Linked DNA regions of Homo sapiens: region 2 is linked to region 1. The links are contacts of gene promoters, found by promoter capture Hi-C in blood cells and fetal thymus (Javierre and others, 2016). All regions are on one chromosome and are shown on one strand. Each heading gives the region's core, a stretch centred on a gene start or on the middle of the fragment in contact. The rest is flanking DNA. Distances are from core to core; before and after follow the strand shown. Region 1 holds the start of SERPINB6 (serpin family B member 6). Region 2 has its middle 14 kb from the start of MIR4645.

Region 1 (3,824 bases), core at 254-2,753:
AAAAAAAAAAAAAATTTTCTTTCTTTGGATGCCTTGGCTTAATCCCAAGTGCAGTAAGCCTGGAAATGTAAGGTGTGTGGTCTTCCCTGGGACCGTACAACATCTGCTTGGGTGCCCTTATTATTACATATGTGGAAAAGAATGTTGGTTCTATTCATGCTAATTTCACTCTACTGTTACTGGTCCGTGTTAACTGTTTCATGCTGAATTGTAATAAAATGCATTGGAATTGGCCTTAACTTAAAATACTTAGTTTACATAGTCGAGTATGACCAAAGTACTTTTCTCTTTGGTGGCACATCACAATGGATGCAATTACTCAGATACGGTCCTGAAATGAGAACAAACGCCATCTATGCTGATAACAGCAGTCACTGGTGTTAATCCCAGCACACATAAAAGCCCCAGCAATACAAGGCCGGCCCAGGACCTTAACTAGAAGGTCACTGAACACATCAGATCTCATCGCATCAGGCCTGACCCCCACCAGAAAGGATGCAGGCAGCTGCAGGGCTGTCATTAGGCACGAGAGCATCCCAGAAAGCAAAAGTGCCCAAAAAATGGACTCAGATGCCCCCTCGCATCTGAGTATTCCTGACAGCATGTGAACATTAATTATTAATTTTCTGTACCTCAGTTTTCCGAAGCCAATCTTTAGGACAAAAAAAAAAAAAAAAAAAAGGAAGAAAATAACTTAAATGCCAATTTGTAGTTAAAGTTTCCTCTTTGCCTTGAAGACATCAAAGCCTGTAATAGTTTGCCTGTAGGGAGTTTAATTCAAACACAGAGCGGTAAGGAGATCCGGGCTGGTCCACACGATCGTCTCCACAGGTCTGGGCGACCTGAAAGTGCTGCGGATTGGCCAAGCCCAGCACGGCCAGTCCAGTGAACACACGCAGGGGGCCCGGATGGCACCGTTTGGCGCCGAACCCCTCGGCCTCTCTCCGCCTCCCGCCCGGCTCCTAACACCCGGCGCCCCAAGACTGAGCACGCGTCCTCCGGGTCGCGGAGCGGGCGAGGGGTCACCGAGGCCGCGGGGCCGACCGGGGTCACCTGTGGCCCGGGAGGCTCTGCGCCGCCCCCATCCCGCGCCGGCCGCCTCTTCCGTGGGCGCTGGGCCTGGGCGCCCGGGGTCCTCGGGTCCGCGGCGTCACCGGCCGGGCTCGCGGCCACGCACGACTCACCCGGCCGCGTCGCCGTTCTCTGCCGCTGCGAGGCTCCGGAAGGGAACCCAAGCCGGACGCTCGCCCGGGCCCCCGCCCCGCTGGGACTGCTGGGGTCACAGCCCCGCGCGGCCACGCCCCATTCTCGGGGCTCCAGCGTCCCCGCGCGCCGTCGACCCACGCGCGTTCCCGGCCCCGCGCGACCCCCACCCTGCCCCCCTCCCCGCTCGCGCCCCCGGCTTTCCCGACTTTGGAGCGACAAACCCAAGCCAGCGTGTCCGAGCGGCTCCCAAGCCAGACACGTACTCCAGAGCGGGGAGCGAGCGAGCAGAACGGCGGGCAGAGGCGCCGGAGCCGCCCCGGACCTCAAATACTCGCGGGGAGGCGGGCGGAGTCCCGGGTCTCGAGCTACCGTCGCCCGTCCGGAGCGCGAAGGGAGAGGCGGGGCGGGACGTGCGGGTCAACCCCACCCGCCAGCCGGAGGGGCCGCGAGTCCTGCCCGGAGGCCTTGACTTTGACCACAGTACAGGGCCCCACCAGCGTGTTTATGGTGCCTCTGTGGAGACTGAATGCTGGCCTGTTTCCAGAAAAGGGCCGGCTCCTGATACACGGCCATCCACTGGGGAGTGCAGAACACGCATTTAAAAATGAGCAGACTAGATACAGGTCACAAAGACTTTGCTGATGAAACAGCTTGCGGCAAAGAAGCCAGCCAGGGGCGGGCGCGGGGCTCACGCCAGTAATCCCAACACTGGGAGGCCGAGGCAGGCGGATCACTGGAGGTCAGGAGTTCCAGACCAGCCTGGCCAACATGGCAAAACCCCGTCTCTACTAAAAATACAAAAATTAGCCGAGTGTAATGGCGCGTGCCTGTAATCTCAGTTGCTGGGGAAGCTGAGGCAGGAGAATCACTTGAACCCGGGAGGCAGAGGCTGCAGTGAGCCGAGATGGCGCCACCGCACTCCAGTCTGGTCCGTCTCAAAAAAAAAAAAAAAAAAAAAAAAAAAAAAAGTAGACTAAATAGCTTTTGCAAAGCAAAAGGAATAGTCAAGCAGAGTAAACAGACAACCTACAGAGTGGGAGAAAATCTTCACAATCTATACATCCGACAAAGCAGTAATATCCAGAATCTACAAGAAACTCAAACAAATTAGCAAGAAAAAAAAATCCCATCAAAAAGTGGGCTGGCATGAATAGACAGTTCTCAAAAGAGGATATGCAAATGGCCAACAAACAAGAAAAAATGCTCAACATCACTAATGATTAGGGAAATGCAAATCAAAACCACAATGTGATACCACCTTACTCCCGCAAGAGTGGCCTTAATCAAAAAATCAAAAACTCAAAAAATAATAGATGTTGGCGTGGATTTGGTGAAGAGGGAACACCTCTACACTGCTGATGGATAGTACAACCACTGTGGAAAATAGTATGGCGATTCCTTAAATAACTAAAAATAGAACTACCATTTGATCCAGCAATCCCACTACTGGGTATCTACGCAGAGGAAAATAAGTCATTATACAAAAAAGATACTTGCACACGCATGTTAATAGCAGCACAATTCGTAATTGCAAAAACATGAAACCAACCCAAATGCCCATCAATCAAAGAGTGGATAAAGAAACTGTGGTATGCGTATACGGTGGAATGCTACTCAGCCATAAAAAGGAATGAATTAATGGCATTGGCAACCTGGATGGGATTGGAGACTGTTGTTCTAAGTGAAGTAACTCAGGAATGGAAAACCAAACATTGTATGTTCTCACTCATAAGTAGGACCTAAACTATGAGGATACAAAGGCATAAGAATGATACAATGGACTTTGGGGACTTGGGGGAAAAGGGTGGGAAGGGAGTGAGGGATAAAAGGCTACAAATTTGAGTTCAGTGTATACTGCTAAGGTGATAGATGCACCAGAATCTCACAAATCACCACTAAAGAACTTACTTGGCAGGGCGCAGTGGCTCATGCCCGTAATCTCAGCACTTTGGGAGGCCAAGGCAGGCAGATCATGAGGTCAGGAGTTCGAGACCAGCCTGGCCAGCATGGTGAAACCCCCGTCTCTACTAAAAATATAAAAAAATTAGGCATGGTGGCACACATCTGTAGTGCCAGCTACTGAGGAGGCTGAGGCAGGAGAATTGCTTGAATCTAGCAGGCGGAGGTTGGTTGCAGTGAGCTGAGATCATGCCACTGCACCCCAGCCTGGGCAACAGAGCAAGACCCCATCTCAGGAAAAAAAAAAAAAAGCTTGCCATGTAACCAAATACCACGTGTTCTCCAAAAAACTATGGAAATAAAAAAACTAAAATATATATTAAATTTAAAAATAAATGTATATAAATGAGCAGAGCCCACATCATTGAGCCGTGTGTTCAAGGACTTCCAGTTCTCTCCAGGCATAGGAATTAGACCCCAGGGTACTGACAGGTTAGCCAAGTAAGTATGAAAACTCCATCTGCCATCTCAGACAGAGCAGTCTTGGAAAACAGAAACATCTAGCATAAATGGAAGTAGGGAAGATACTAGCCAGGTGTTTTACATGAGTTCAATTTTGAGAACTCAAGCTGTTTTACTCCCTCTGTGCTTACCCTAAGGCAGAGTTTCTCAACTGCGACACTGTTGACCGCATGAACCCGATAACTTGTGGTTGTGGG
Region 2 (3,656 bases), core at 94-2,593, 100 kb before region 1:
ATTAATTTTGCCTCAGCTTCTTCCTGTCAGTCGACAACTCCTAACTAGCTATTTTCATCCCTTTTCAAGCTTCCTAAGAGGTTACTTTCATTTAGGTTCGTGATATAATAAAAAATATATCTGGTGTTTATCCCCAGTTCCCGGCACAGAGCTCCTAAAACCCTTGGAATTTCCTGAGTAATGCGAGTGTGTTTTGCTATTCAAAATGAGCCGCTTTAGCTACACCTGAGCTTATGCTGATGAGGCGGCTCTTGGTGATCCCCTGGGGAGGGAAGAAGGGCTGGGAATTGAGTTCAGCCACCAATGGCCAGTGAATTAATCAATAACACCTATGTAATGGAACCTCCATAAAAATCAAAAAGACCAGGTTGAGGGAGCATGTGGGTTAATGAACAGACAGGTGCTGAGAGGGTGGAGTGTCTAGAGAGGGAATGGAAGCTCTCTGCACGCACCCCCGACCCCCCTTAACTTGCTCTCTGCATCTCTTCCACTGGTTGTTTCTGCCTTTATAATAAACTGGTGATAATAATAAAGTGCTTTCTTGAGTTCTGTGAGTCATTCTAGTAAATTATTAAGCCTGAGGGAGGTTATGGGAATCCCCAAATTTGTACTTGGCCGGGCAGCAGTGTGAAGAGCCTGGGCACCCCATTTGTGACAGGTGTCTGAAGAGGGGGTAGTCTTGGGGGCTGAGCCCTCTAACTGGACGTTAAGTACTGTCAGAATTGAATTGAATTGTTGGACACCCAGTTGGTGTCAAAGAACTGATTGGTGTGAGGAAAAAAACCTCTTAAAGGTCTTTACTCCCACTTACTGGTAGTGTTGCTAAGTTCATAATGCCTTTTTCTTATCACTCATGGCTTCATTAGGCTTGACTTACTGGTCTTACTTGCCTAGATTGGTCTTGAACTCCTGGGCTCAAGCCATCTTCCTGCCTTGGCCTCCCAAAGTGCTGGGATTGCGGGTGTAAGCTACCATGCCCAGCCTCAGTGTTTTTAATACACACAATAAAACTTATTACCTTAAAAATTAAACTTCTCATGTTAGTCTAAAACAAGTTCCAAATGAGTTAATGCAAAAACACAAAATTATAAAAGCTCTAAGGAAAAAGACAAGTGAATATTTATATAATCTGAGTGTCAAGAAGACTTTCTATGCAAGACTCTGGAGGAAGAAAACAAAAAAAATACTAAAGTGGACTATTTAAATAAAAAAAGTTCTTTACTTAAAATATTAATAACACTAATATGTAAATTAAAAGCACGGGAATTATCTTGCGATATGTATATAACATTAAGAAAAATCTATTGGTAGAGAGTGCTTAAAAACTGCAAGACAAAAAAATGAATATCCCAAGGACAAAAGTAGGCAAATAAAAATAGGCTAATTCTAAAAGAAGTATGGGTGACTAATAAATGAAAATTTAAATAATGACGTGCAATTTTCCTCCCATCAAATTATCAAAGTGATATCTGTAATGGTAAAAATATAAATAGCTGGAATGTCTGTTTTTACATGATTGAATAATACATTATGGTTAAGTTACCTAATGGATCACAAGGTAGCCATTATAAATGATGCCAGAGAGATGTATTGACATTTAACAAAGCCCAGGCGATTTTCTGTTGCATGAAATATGCATAGGCACGAGAGCTCTGATTTAGCAGCTAAAAACATGAAGATCCAGAAATACTTTATTTCATGCATCTTTTCTTCTCCCAACCCTATTCTGGCTGAAATCGACTAAAATGAATACCACTGGCAACCTTGTTCGTGGGATATTGTACAAGAATGAGCTCTTAAATCAATGTGTCAGAAAATGAAGGAGACACAATGCTGAGGTGGTGTTCTGGATTAAAAGAATTTTAAGCAACATCACAATGAAATTTGATGCATAACCCTTGAATGGATTCTTGCTCAAATAAACAAGCTATAAAAGTATCTCCAAGACCGCTGGAAAATTTGAATATGGATTCAGTATGACAAACTAATTGTTCATTTTAATAAGTATGAGGTATTACGGTTACATAGGAAAATGCCCTTTTAAAAAATAAAAAATGCACATTTAGGGGTATATAAAAACGTATTTAGGGGTAAAAAGTAATGTATATAATTCACTGATTTTTTAAAATGTCCAATCCAATATTAAGTTCATCTGCCAAATGTTTCATTTTAAATGTTTCAGAATTTTTTTTTTTGAGATGGAGTCTCGCTCTGTCGCCCAGGCTGCAATGCAGTTGCGCAACCTCGGCTTACTGCAAGCTCCGCGTCCTGGGTTCACGCCATTCTCCTACCTCAGCCTCCCAGTAATTTTTAAGTTTCTATTTTTCTGTTGAGGTTTTCTATCTGTTCACTCGCTATGCCATCTACTCCTTAAATCCTTTAACATATTTCTAAGAGTTGCATTGCAGTCTTTGTTAATTTTAACATTTGTCTCACTTTCGTGTGTTTTTATTGACTTTTTCCTGGTTATGGGTCATACTTACACTACGTAGGTTTAATAACTTTTTAAAATATGCTAGACATTTCAGCATGTAGTTGAGAGTCCAGAGATCTCAGGCCTCAGGACTAGGGCTAGTATAGCCCTAGAAGATTATTCTAAACTATTATCTAATAAAAACCAAGCTTCCACAAGATCCAAACCAACCCACCAGTTGTTTCGTATACATTGTCCAGTTTACGGTTAATAACAATGGGAGGATAACTCTTGATACTTGTTACTCCACCTCGGCTGGAATTAGAAGTAACAAGTTAGGCTCTCAGCTTTGTTACCACCCGTGACATGAGGGGTTGGGCTAGGTAAGTGCATGCATCAGAATCACTCACCCGGAAATGCCCATTCTCAAAATTCCTGAAGTCTCAGATGGGGCTTGAAAATTCAGAGGTCTCACGAATCCTAACAATTCTAATATTGCCCATACAGAAAACCACTTAGAGCCAGATTTGATTCAACCCCAGAAGGTAACTAAAACCACCTGAGAAAGTTTTAAACACCAATGCTTAGGCTCCGATCTAAAATAATTAAGCTTCAGTGGAAAGTAATGTCTGAAATTTGTGGATTCTTGATCACACCTAAATTAAGCAAAAAAAGCCACAAAAACCTCACAGTGAGCGTTACAGTTCTTAAGAAAGACATAAAGACACCCAGAGCTTATTCCTTTTGACATTCAGATAGGCACAATTTTTTCTGCTAGCTAGTTCATGGCCTCATCAGCTTCAAGAGTTAACCCACAAACTTTCATGTGAAGTATTACAGCTCCTAAAAACACAGAGCCCAAGAATCAAAAAACAAAACGCACCACAGTTTAGCCTGAAGAACGTAAAAAAAAAAAATCAAAAACCCCAACACAGAAAACAAACTCAGCAGTTTGTGCTACTAGGTCAGGCAGCCTGCTTTTATTCCCTTATCTGGCCCCACCCACCTCCTGCTAATGGTCCATTTTACAGAGAGCTGATTGGTCCATTTTACAGAGAGCTGATAGGTCCATTTTACAGAAAGCTGATTAGTCCGTTTTGACAGGGTGCTGACTGGCGCATTTACAACCCTGAGCTAGACACAGTGCTGATTGGTGCATTTACAATCCTTTAGCTAGACATAAAAGTTCTCCAAGTCCTCACTCGATTAACTAGATACAGAGCACTGATTGGTGTGTTTACAA

What was found. Contacts are between HindIII fragments. The CHiCAGO score rates a contact against its expected background, and 5 or more counts as called.
Region 2: a contact is called between a fragment that was not itself captured here and the fragment with the promoter of SERPINB6 in region 1, in 1 of 17 cell types (monocytes). The highest score is 5.3, in monocytes.

What each region holds. Positions count from the first base shown.
Region 1 is chr6:2,970,064-2,973,887 of GRCh38, forward strand. SERPINB6 (serpin family B member 6) reads right to left here and starts at 1,504. Exons shown (of 7, transcript NM_004568.6): 1 at 1,470-1,504. RefSeq lists an enhancer at 1,285-1,809. The HindIII fragment of the contact is 12,287 bases long and covers 1-3,415 here.
Region 2 is chr6:2,866,050-2,869,705 of GRCh38, forward strand. It overlaps the pseudogene SERPINB9P1. Among named protein-coding and RNA genes, the nearest start is that of MIR4645, 14 kb to the left of the region's middle. RefSeq lists enhancers at 638-747, 768-917. The HindIII fragment of the contact is 2,553 bases long and covers 68-2,620 here.